2 separate regions of the Homo sapiens genome follow, and region 2 is linked to region 1. Evidence: promoter capture Hi-C in human tissues and cell types (Jung and others, 2019). All regions are on one chromosome and are shown on one strand. The core of a region is centred on a gene start or on the middle of the fragment in contact, and the rest is flanking DNA. Distances in the headings are between cores, read along the strand shown. Region 1 holds the start of ZNF776 (zinc finger protein 776). Region 2 holds the start of USP29 (ubiquitin specific peptidase 29).

Region 1 (4,060 bases), core at 1,245-3,744:
CCATTCACCTAATACCATTGCCATTTAAAGAGCAGTCCTGGATGGGCATGGTGGTTCACACCTGTAATCCTAGCACTTTGGGAGGCTGAGGCAGGTGGATCATGAGGTCAGGAGTTCGAGACCAGCCTGGCCAATATGGTGAAATCACATCTCTACTAAAAATACAAAAAAAAATTAGTGGGGCGTGGTGGCACGCAACTGTATTCTCAGCTACCGGGAGGCTGAGGCAGGAGAATCACTTGAACCTGGGAGGTGGAGGTTGTAATGAGCCAAGATTGCGCCACTATACACCAGTACACCAGCCTGGGCGACAGAGTGAGACACCGTCTCAAAAAAAAAAAAAGTCCTGTTTTTAATCCATTTAAGGCCCAAGACCTACTGTCACAGATGACCATATTTCTCCCTGAGCATATTCAGCACGTGTAATGAAACCCCCCACACACTACCAAAGTCATCTCAAATCTTGATTGCACAGAGTGGTGAATAAGTACCACTCTGGCCTAAGTGTCATCTTCCCTCAATTTGACTACACTTCTGCATATATCTATTTCATGTCTATTCTCTCCTTGAAAGTCTATGTCCCCTGTCAAATTATGCTGACAGGTATACCCTACCATCATGGTCACTTACCTACCTCTCCAGTGTTTAGGAAGCCCAGTAACATTACCCAGGGACCCAAGCAACAGATGCAGTCCTCATCATTCAACCACTGCTTTCTGGTCCCCTAAAAGATTTACCACCAGAATCTGAAGTGTGTTCTCCTTAATGTGACCCATGGCTCACTCACCATAGCATACACATTAGCTACCATATATTAGATGTCTCCAGTGTCAATCCCTTTCCAGATACCCCAACCTGCATGTCCATAGCCATTTGATGCCTACACTTATTCGTCTCTGACTCTTCATATGGCCATAACAGTCATCCTGATATTTGCATAATATTCTAATTATGTTTATTACCAACATGCTCATCTCAGCTGATGCAGCTTCCATAGCTACAGCTACTAAGACCAAAAACCTCGGGATCCTGATTGCTCTCTTCATGCCCTTACTTTGTGTATTAGGAAACCTAGATGCTGTAACAAAATATCAACTTTGAATCCAGCCACATCTCCTTAGCCATGAATCTTAGTCTGTTAACCCTCACTTGGATTACGGCAAAAGCCTCAACTCTCATCTTATTTCCTCCTCTCTCAACCCCACAGTCTGTTCTCCACTGTACAGCCAGAGGAGACTACAGCCAGATGAAACTGTGGCAACATCACCTCCTCCCTCTGGTCAGTTTCACCTCTAAGCATTTCACATCCTGGTACTAACTCCTGGGTTAACCTTCCAAGTATGTTTATACTGGTTGACAGAAATGGGAATACCTCCATATATCCTGTGTCACAGACTTTGGATCCTGGGTTTAAGGTTCCTCCAGGGTTCCCATATCAAAAAACTTAAAAAAAAAAAAAAAAAGGTACCTAAGAATCCCAGGACATCCCAATCTAAAGAGCATGTGGATAGGAGTTAGGGCCAGTGAGGGAATAACACCCTCCGCTTCCCTGCGGAGGTTCTGCAAGTGCTTCTGCAGCCAGGAGTTCCTGAGAGGAGAGGCACAAGCTACAAGAATGTATCCCTGATGAGATTTGATAAGCTCAGGCCTCCCTGAACTCTTTCTTGGCCCTGTAACTAGGTAAACGCGAGTTGGTTGTCTGAACTGAGCGCCTCAGTACAAAATGTCATCTCTTAGCACCTATCTGATCTGTAGAGGTTGAACAAGAATTCAACCTCCCAGGGCCCAAAAGTCATCCCCTGTGTTCTTTTTCGACTGGACTTTGGGAAACCTTTAAAGCCTGGACATTGATCTTTTCCTTCCTTTGTTGGAAGCTGTCCATGGCTTCCAGCGTTCTCAGGGTGAATACACGGTCCTCAGCCTGCTCTTCCAGGAGGAGCTCTGCCTCACACTTTGCTCCCGACAGGTGCCTGTGGACCCTAGGTTACGATCCTCTCGGCTCAGTTCATCTCCAGGCCTTTGCCTGCACCGCTCCCTGTGCCTGTAGCTCTCCTGAGCGCATCCCGCGGGTGTCAAAAACGGGGGCCCATAGAGAGCGCCTCAGTGTCCCGACGCCGGGTTCAGGGTGTAAAACCTTGAGCAGGCGCCGCTTCCTCTCTGCTTTTGGACTTAGGTAAAGATGAGGTGACCTGAGGGCACGGAAGACGCCACAATTACCTGAGCCGGGGGCCTCAGCGCGGCCGCCGCCATCCGACTGGGTGGGGAAAGCGGGGTCGAAAGGAGGGGGCGAGCAGTGCAGGTACCCGGGCACGGTGGTCCCGATCCCGGCCTTGGTGCGGGTCACGCCTAGCGCCTTTAAGGAGCTGCAGAGCAGCCTCTGTGCAGTCGGGACAACGTCTCGTCTCCACCTTCTGGGTTCAGTCACTTCTACACGACCCAACACTCCGCGGTCTCTCACTGGAAAATACACCCAACACCAATCAAAATGGCCACTAGTAGAGGACGCCGGAAGTCCCACCTTTATACTGTTTCCGCGGAAACGCCTTTATTTTGAGCCCTCATTGGCTCTGACGCGCTGTCATTCGACGCAGAGATTTCTGGGTTATGTAGTTTCCTCAGGTTCCAAGACAGTTCCAAGGCGGTAAAGAAGGCCTTCTCAGAGGCGCTTGATTGCACAGAGTGGTGAATAAACACTACTCTGGCCTAAGTGTCATCTTCCCTCAATTTGACTATACTTCTGCATGTATCTATTTCATGTCTATTTTCTCCTTGAAAGTCTATATCCCCTGTCAAACTATGCTGTCAGGTATACCCTACCATCACGTTCACTTACTTGCAGGAAAGGCCCAGCTCCATCTCAGCGGCCTGTCCTTAAAGTGCATGTCCTTCTAGGGTAGAGGATAGTCTCACCTAGCCTTAGAACCCGTATTGAGATTTTTGGAGATTAGTGTCTGTAACTGATCACTCAAGTATTTGAAAAAATATTATTTTAGATTTTGGGGAACTCGAGCTCTCCGATGCTAAACTTATTATTTAGGATGCCCCCAAAGACTAAAAATCCAAATTATCATAACGTTTTGAACAGTCTTTCAGTCGCAAAATCCCGGTACTGGCAGCAGAGGCTGATAAACATTATTGTGTTATAAATTCACATGAATGCACTCTGAGGCATTAGAGTCAGTTTCTCAGTCTGTCAGGGACAAGAGAGAACTAATCCAGATAGGACAAGACAAGGAAGATAGAGGAGAAATGTTGTGTTCCCTAAAGCAGGAATACATGCTGAATCTCTGTCTGTGATTCCCACAGAAGACAACTCTCCTGCCTATAAAATCAATCATAGTGTCCAGTACATTGAGCAACACTTTTATCCACTTAGTATCCCTCGCTTGAGATTCCAACTTATATTCAATTAATTCTGGATTAATTTATCTAAGATTTATCAATCTTACAGGAAGACCAATGAAAGAAATGCTATTTTGGTAGTGATAAATGGCTGCAGTTTTCAAAGGTGGGGCACGTATGCAGAAGATGCTCTCCACCTGTTGATATTGGTTGTGTCTTAAATCCAGGAGTTCATGTTATTGCTGGGAAGTGGCTATTTTTTTTTTTTTGTATTAGATAAAACAGACTTTATTTATTTCTTTTCTTTTTTTTTTTTTGTGACTATTCTTTATTTCTGTTTCCATGGCAAGGAGTGTTTTGCCTAATAAATTAATGTTATGGATGGGATTACAGGCATGAGCCACCATACCTGGCTAATTTTGTATTTTTAGTAGAGACGGGGTTTCTCCATGTTGGTCAGGCTGGTCTCGAACTCTCAACCTCAGGTGATCCACCTGTCTCGGCCTCCCAAAGTGCTGGGATTAAAGGCATGAGCCACTGTACCCAGCCGCTCAGTTCTTAAAAAACCTATGTCTTCTATGTTCAGGGAGAAGAGGCATTTAGAGCAAGAGCTTACTCATTCTCCATTTCTGCTCAGAAATAAAACTTGCTTGCCTTTTTTTTTTTTTTTCCCAAATTGGGTGTTCTTTTTTTTGTGACCAATACAAAGTAGGGAAAG
Region 2 (4,080 bases), core at 197-2,696, 630 kb after region 1:
AAGTATATATAACATATAAGTATGTATAACATATATAAGTATATATAACATATATAAGTATATAACATAAGTAGATATAACATATATAAGTATATATAATATATAAGTACATAACATATATAAGTATATAACATATATAAGTATATATAACATATATAAGTATATATATAACATATATATCCTACATTTTCAACACGTGTAACAAATGTGGATAGTTTCAAAAAGATCATTTTACGTTCTAGTAGTTACCCTGTTTGACCAAAGTGTAGTACTTTTATTTTTCTATTGCAGTGCATTTTCTTTTTTTTTTTTGGCGGGAGGTGAGGGAGCGGAGCGGGGATGGAGTCTCACTCTGTCACCGAGGCTGGAGTTTAATGGCGTGATCTCGGCTCACTGCAGCCTCTGCTTCCTGGGTTCAAGTGATTCTCCTGCCTAAGCCTCCTGAGTAGCTGGGATTACAGGAGCCCGCCACCACGCCTGGCTAATTTTTTGTATTTTTAGTAGAGACGGGGTTTCGCTATGTTGCCCAGGCAGTCTCGAACTCCTGATCCGCCCGCCTTGGCCTCCCAAAGTTCTGGAATTACAGGAGTGAGCCACCGTGCCCGGCCTTTTTTCTGTTTTTTTTTTTTTTTTTTTTTTTTTGAGACGGAGTCTCTCGCTCTGTCGCCCAGGCTGGAGTGCAGTGGTGTGATCTCGGCTCACTGCAACCTCCACCTCTGGGGTTCAAGTGATTCTCCTGCCTCAGCCTCCCCAGTAGCTGGGATTACAGGCACCCACCATCATGGCCAGCTAATTTTTGTATTTTTAGTAGAGACAGGGTTTCACCTTGTTGGTCAGGCTGGTCTCAAACTCCTGACCTCAGGTGATCTACCCGCCTCGGCCTCCCAAAGTGCTGGCATGACAGGCGTGAGCCACCGACCCAGCCCTTTTTTCTTTTATATAGTTTTTGAGACAGGGTCTTGCTCTGTTGCCCAGGCTGGAGTGCAGTGGTGCGATCATACCTCACTACACCCTCGATCCCCAAGGCTCAAGTCATCCTCCAACCTCTGCCTCCTGACTATCTGACACTACAGGCGTGGGTAATTTTTAAATTTTTTTGAGACATAGTCTCACTTTGTTGTCCAGGCTGGAGTGCAGTGGCATGATCTCAGCTAGCTAATTTTAAAATTTTTTGTAGAGATGGGTGGGGGGAGGGTCTCACTATGTTGCCCAGGCTGGTCTCCAACTCCTGGGCACAAGCGATCCTCCCGCCTCGGCCTCCCAAAGTGCTGGGATTACAGGCATGAGCCTGGCCAGCATTTTCTGTTTGAATGTTTTTACGTAACCGGAGTCGTCATGATGGAGGTACAGTTCCTTGGACTTCCGGCTCCCATGGCTCTGGAAATCTCAGCTCGGACCCGCCCCTTCCGGCGCCGACTCCCCTGATTCTCCTGGGAACAGAAGAGTTCTGGGCACAGCACGCTGCGTCTGCGCAGTGCCGGGCGCAGGCCTCCCGACCTACGGGTCTAGGTACGGGCTCTAGCGTGGCCGGGGCACATAGAGTTCCTGGCCTAGAGCTGGTGGGGCGTAACGGCAGGAGTTAGGGTTCAGAGAAAACCAGCCCAGGGGCGGGTTCATCCTGTTACCCATTCAGCCTCAAGCGAGGTGGGGTGTGGTAGGTGGGCTGGTGCTAGAAACCACGCCGGGAATTGTTAATAACAGTCATCCCGGCCGGGCGCGGTGGCTCACGCCTGTCATCCCAGCACTTTGGGAGGCCGAGGAGGGCGGATCACCTGAGGTCAGGAGTTTGATATTAGCCTGACCAACGTGGCGAAACCCCGTCTCTACTAAAAATACAAAAATCAGCCGGGCATGGTGGTGGGCGCCTGTAATCCCAGCTACTCGGGAGGCTGAGGCAGGAGAATCGCTTGAACCCGGGAGGCGGAGGTTGCAGTGAGCGGAGATGGCGCCACTACAATCCAGCCTGGGCGACAGAGCGAGACTCCGTCTCAAAACAACAACAAAACCCCCAAAAAAGCGGTCATCCTCCAGGTGGAAGAGACAGAAGAGAGGGTGCGGAAGAGACTTAAAAGTCTTAGGCCTTCAAGCGTGTTTGCCTCAGCCACCCGTGAATCCTACAGGAAAACTAAAACAACTCGGCCACAAGCCCCCAAGTCTTGGGGAAGCGGACGGTTTCCCAGCCGAGCTTTAGGAGGAGGCGCCGCGGGACCTCACGGGTGACGTCGTCCCCGGGGGTAGTTTGCGCAGAGGGTCGCTTTGGGCGCGCTTAGAGTCGCGTGGTGCCTGGGCCAGCGAAGCCCAGGTGCAGTCATTTGTGGCCCTGTCCCGGCGCGCGAGGGGCCAAGGCTGGTCGGGGGCCGGGTCCGCGCGGTAGCAACTGCGTCCTGCCAGCTTCCATCTCTCCCTCTGAGGGCCTGAGCGGCTGCCAGAGTCAGGTCTGCAGGCCGGGCGCTCACGCGTCTGTGCCCAGTGAGGCCCCAAGATGCTGGTGAGGCCTCGACCCTGACTGGTGTCCAGGCTCTTGACACTGTCGTGAGAAGGAATTCATGGATGAGCAGAACAAAGTGTGGAGATTCATTGCGACGGGAATAAGTACGTACTGAAGAAAGAAAAGTGCAGGCATACCACAGAGCATCACGCCCAGCGGGGTTTGGAGCTACCTTTAAATATTTATTTAACCAAGGGGTGGAATATTCATGAAGATTCTTGGAAAAAGGTAAACATTTCTTGGTACTGCGGTGCCACACATTTTTATACTAAATACGGGTGTTCCCCAGAGCTGTCACAGTGGGTGTGTGACTTAGTATGTTAATGAGCACATAATGAGAGGTCCTAGGTGAAACGGGTCGAATCCAGCACCATGTTGGGTCCAGTCGGCTTTAGCCAGCTTGGCCCACACCCTGGTTTTCAGAGTCTTATCCGCCCCTAGCTTACGCAGCGATTTCAACGGTTTCCTTTGCTAGTCATGTGAAACTGTTGCCTGGAATTTTCCGTTCTCCTGTGACCACCTTTATTATTCCTGTCTCAAGGGGCACCCCATTTGTGCCTATAAGGAGACTGCATTGGGACCAGGCTCCTGGCTGCTCATGGAGCCTCAGCCAGATGGTTGTGTGCCTGAGTCCTGTGTTCATTCCACAAACATGCAGCAAGGCTGCGTGGGTTGGAGCCCTGCCTCCAGCGCTTCCCTGCTGCATGACACTGGCAAGTTGCTTAAGCTCTCTGTACCCCATTTCCTCCTCAATAAGGCAGGGATGGTGATCGTACTAGTTCCAAAGGATTATTGTGAGAATTAACATAATACATGAGTTAACACGTATAAAATGCCTAGAACCTTGTCTTTGGATTTCCTCAAACATCCAAGGTGTTTGTACACTAAAGGAAGACACCCAACTTAATTTTCGATCTACAGACCTTGCATTATCTGCAAAATACCGCTGGCTTCTTGACACTGAAGTTATACAAATGTGCCATAATTTTCTTCACAAGTTTCTGGTGTATGTTGATGTTGCTTGAATTAAAACAACCCTGTGACAAGTGGTCTCGTGGAAGTCTTTGCACATGGTCATGCTTGTTTTCTGTGGCTGAACTTGTGGGATTACCTGAATCACCTGTAGGCAAGGTTGTCCCTGCCTCAACATGGTCCCTTCTACCCTTCACAAGACTTCAGTGTGCCCCCATGTCAGCTAAGGCAGAGATTTGGGGCTACGTTACTGGGTAGGGCATAGAGCCAACCTGGATTCTCACATGTTTGTGCTTCCCAAGGACTGCTCCTCAGCCCTCTGCCCTTCCTCAGGAGATGCAGGACATGACCAAAACCCAGATGAGTTTGCATTACTTTTTTTTTTGTTTGTTTTTGAGATGGAGTTTTGCTCTTGTTGCCCAGGCTGACTTGCAATGGCGGGGATCTAGGCTCACTGCAACCTCCACCTCCTGGGTTCAATTGATTCTCCTGCCTCAGCCTCTCTAGTAGCTGGGATTACAGGTGCCCACCACCACGCCTGGCTAATTTTTGTATTTTTAGTAGAGACGGGGTTTCACTATGTTAGCCAGGCTGGCCTTGAACTCCCAACCTCAAGGTGA

The links. Contacts are between HindIII fragments. The study calls those that stand out against the background at their distance.
Region 2: a contact is called between the fragment with the promoter of USP29 here and the fragment with the promoter of ZNF776 in region 1, in 1 of the 25 tissues and cell types used here (aorta).

Annotation. Positions count from the first base shown.
Region 1 is chr19:57,745,249-57,749,308 of GRCh38, reverse strand. It overlaps ZNF776 (zinc finger protein 776), which reads right to left and starts at 2,494. Exons shown (of 3, transcript NM_173632.4): 1 at 2,218-2,494. The coding sequence starts at 2,250. RefSeq lists an enhancer at 2,433-2,482. The HindIII fragment of the contact is 15,716 bases long and covers 1-4,060 here.
Region 2 is chr19:57,117,351-57,121,430 of GRCh38, reverse strand. It overlaps USP29 (ubiquitin specific peptidase 29), which reads right to left and starts at 1,446. Exons shown (of 4, transcript NM_020903.3): 1 at 1,202-1,446. The HindIII fragment of the contact is 14,839 bases long and covers 1-4,080 here.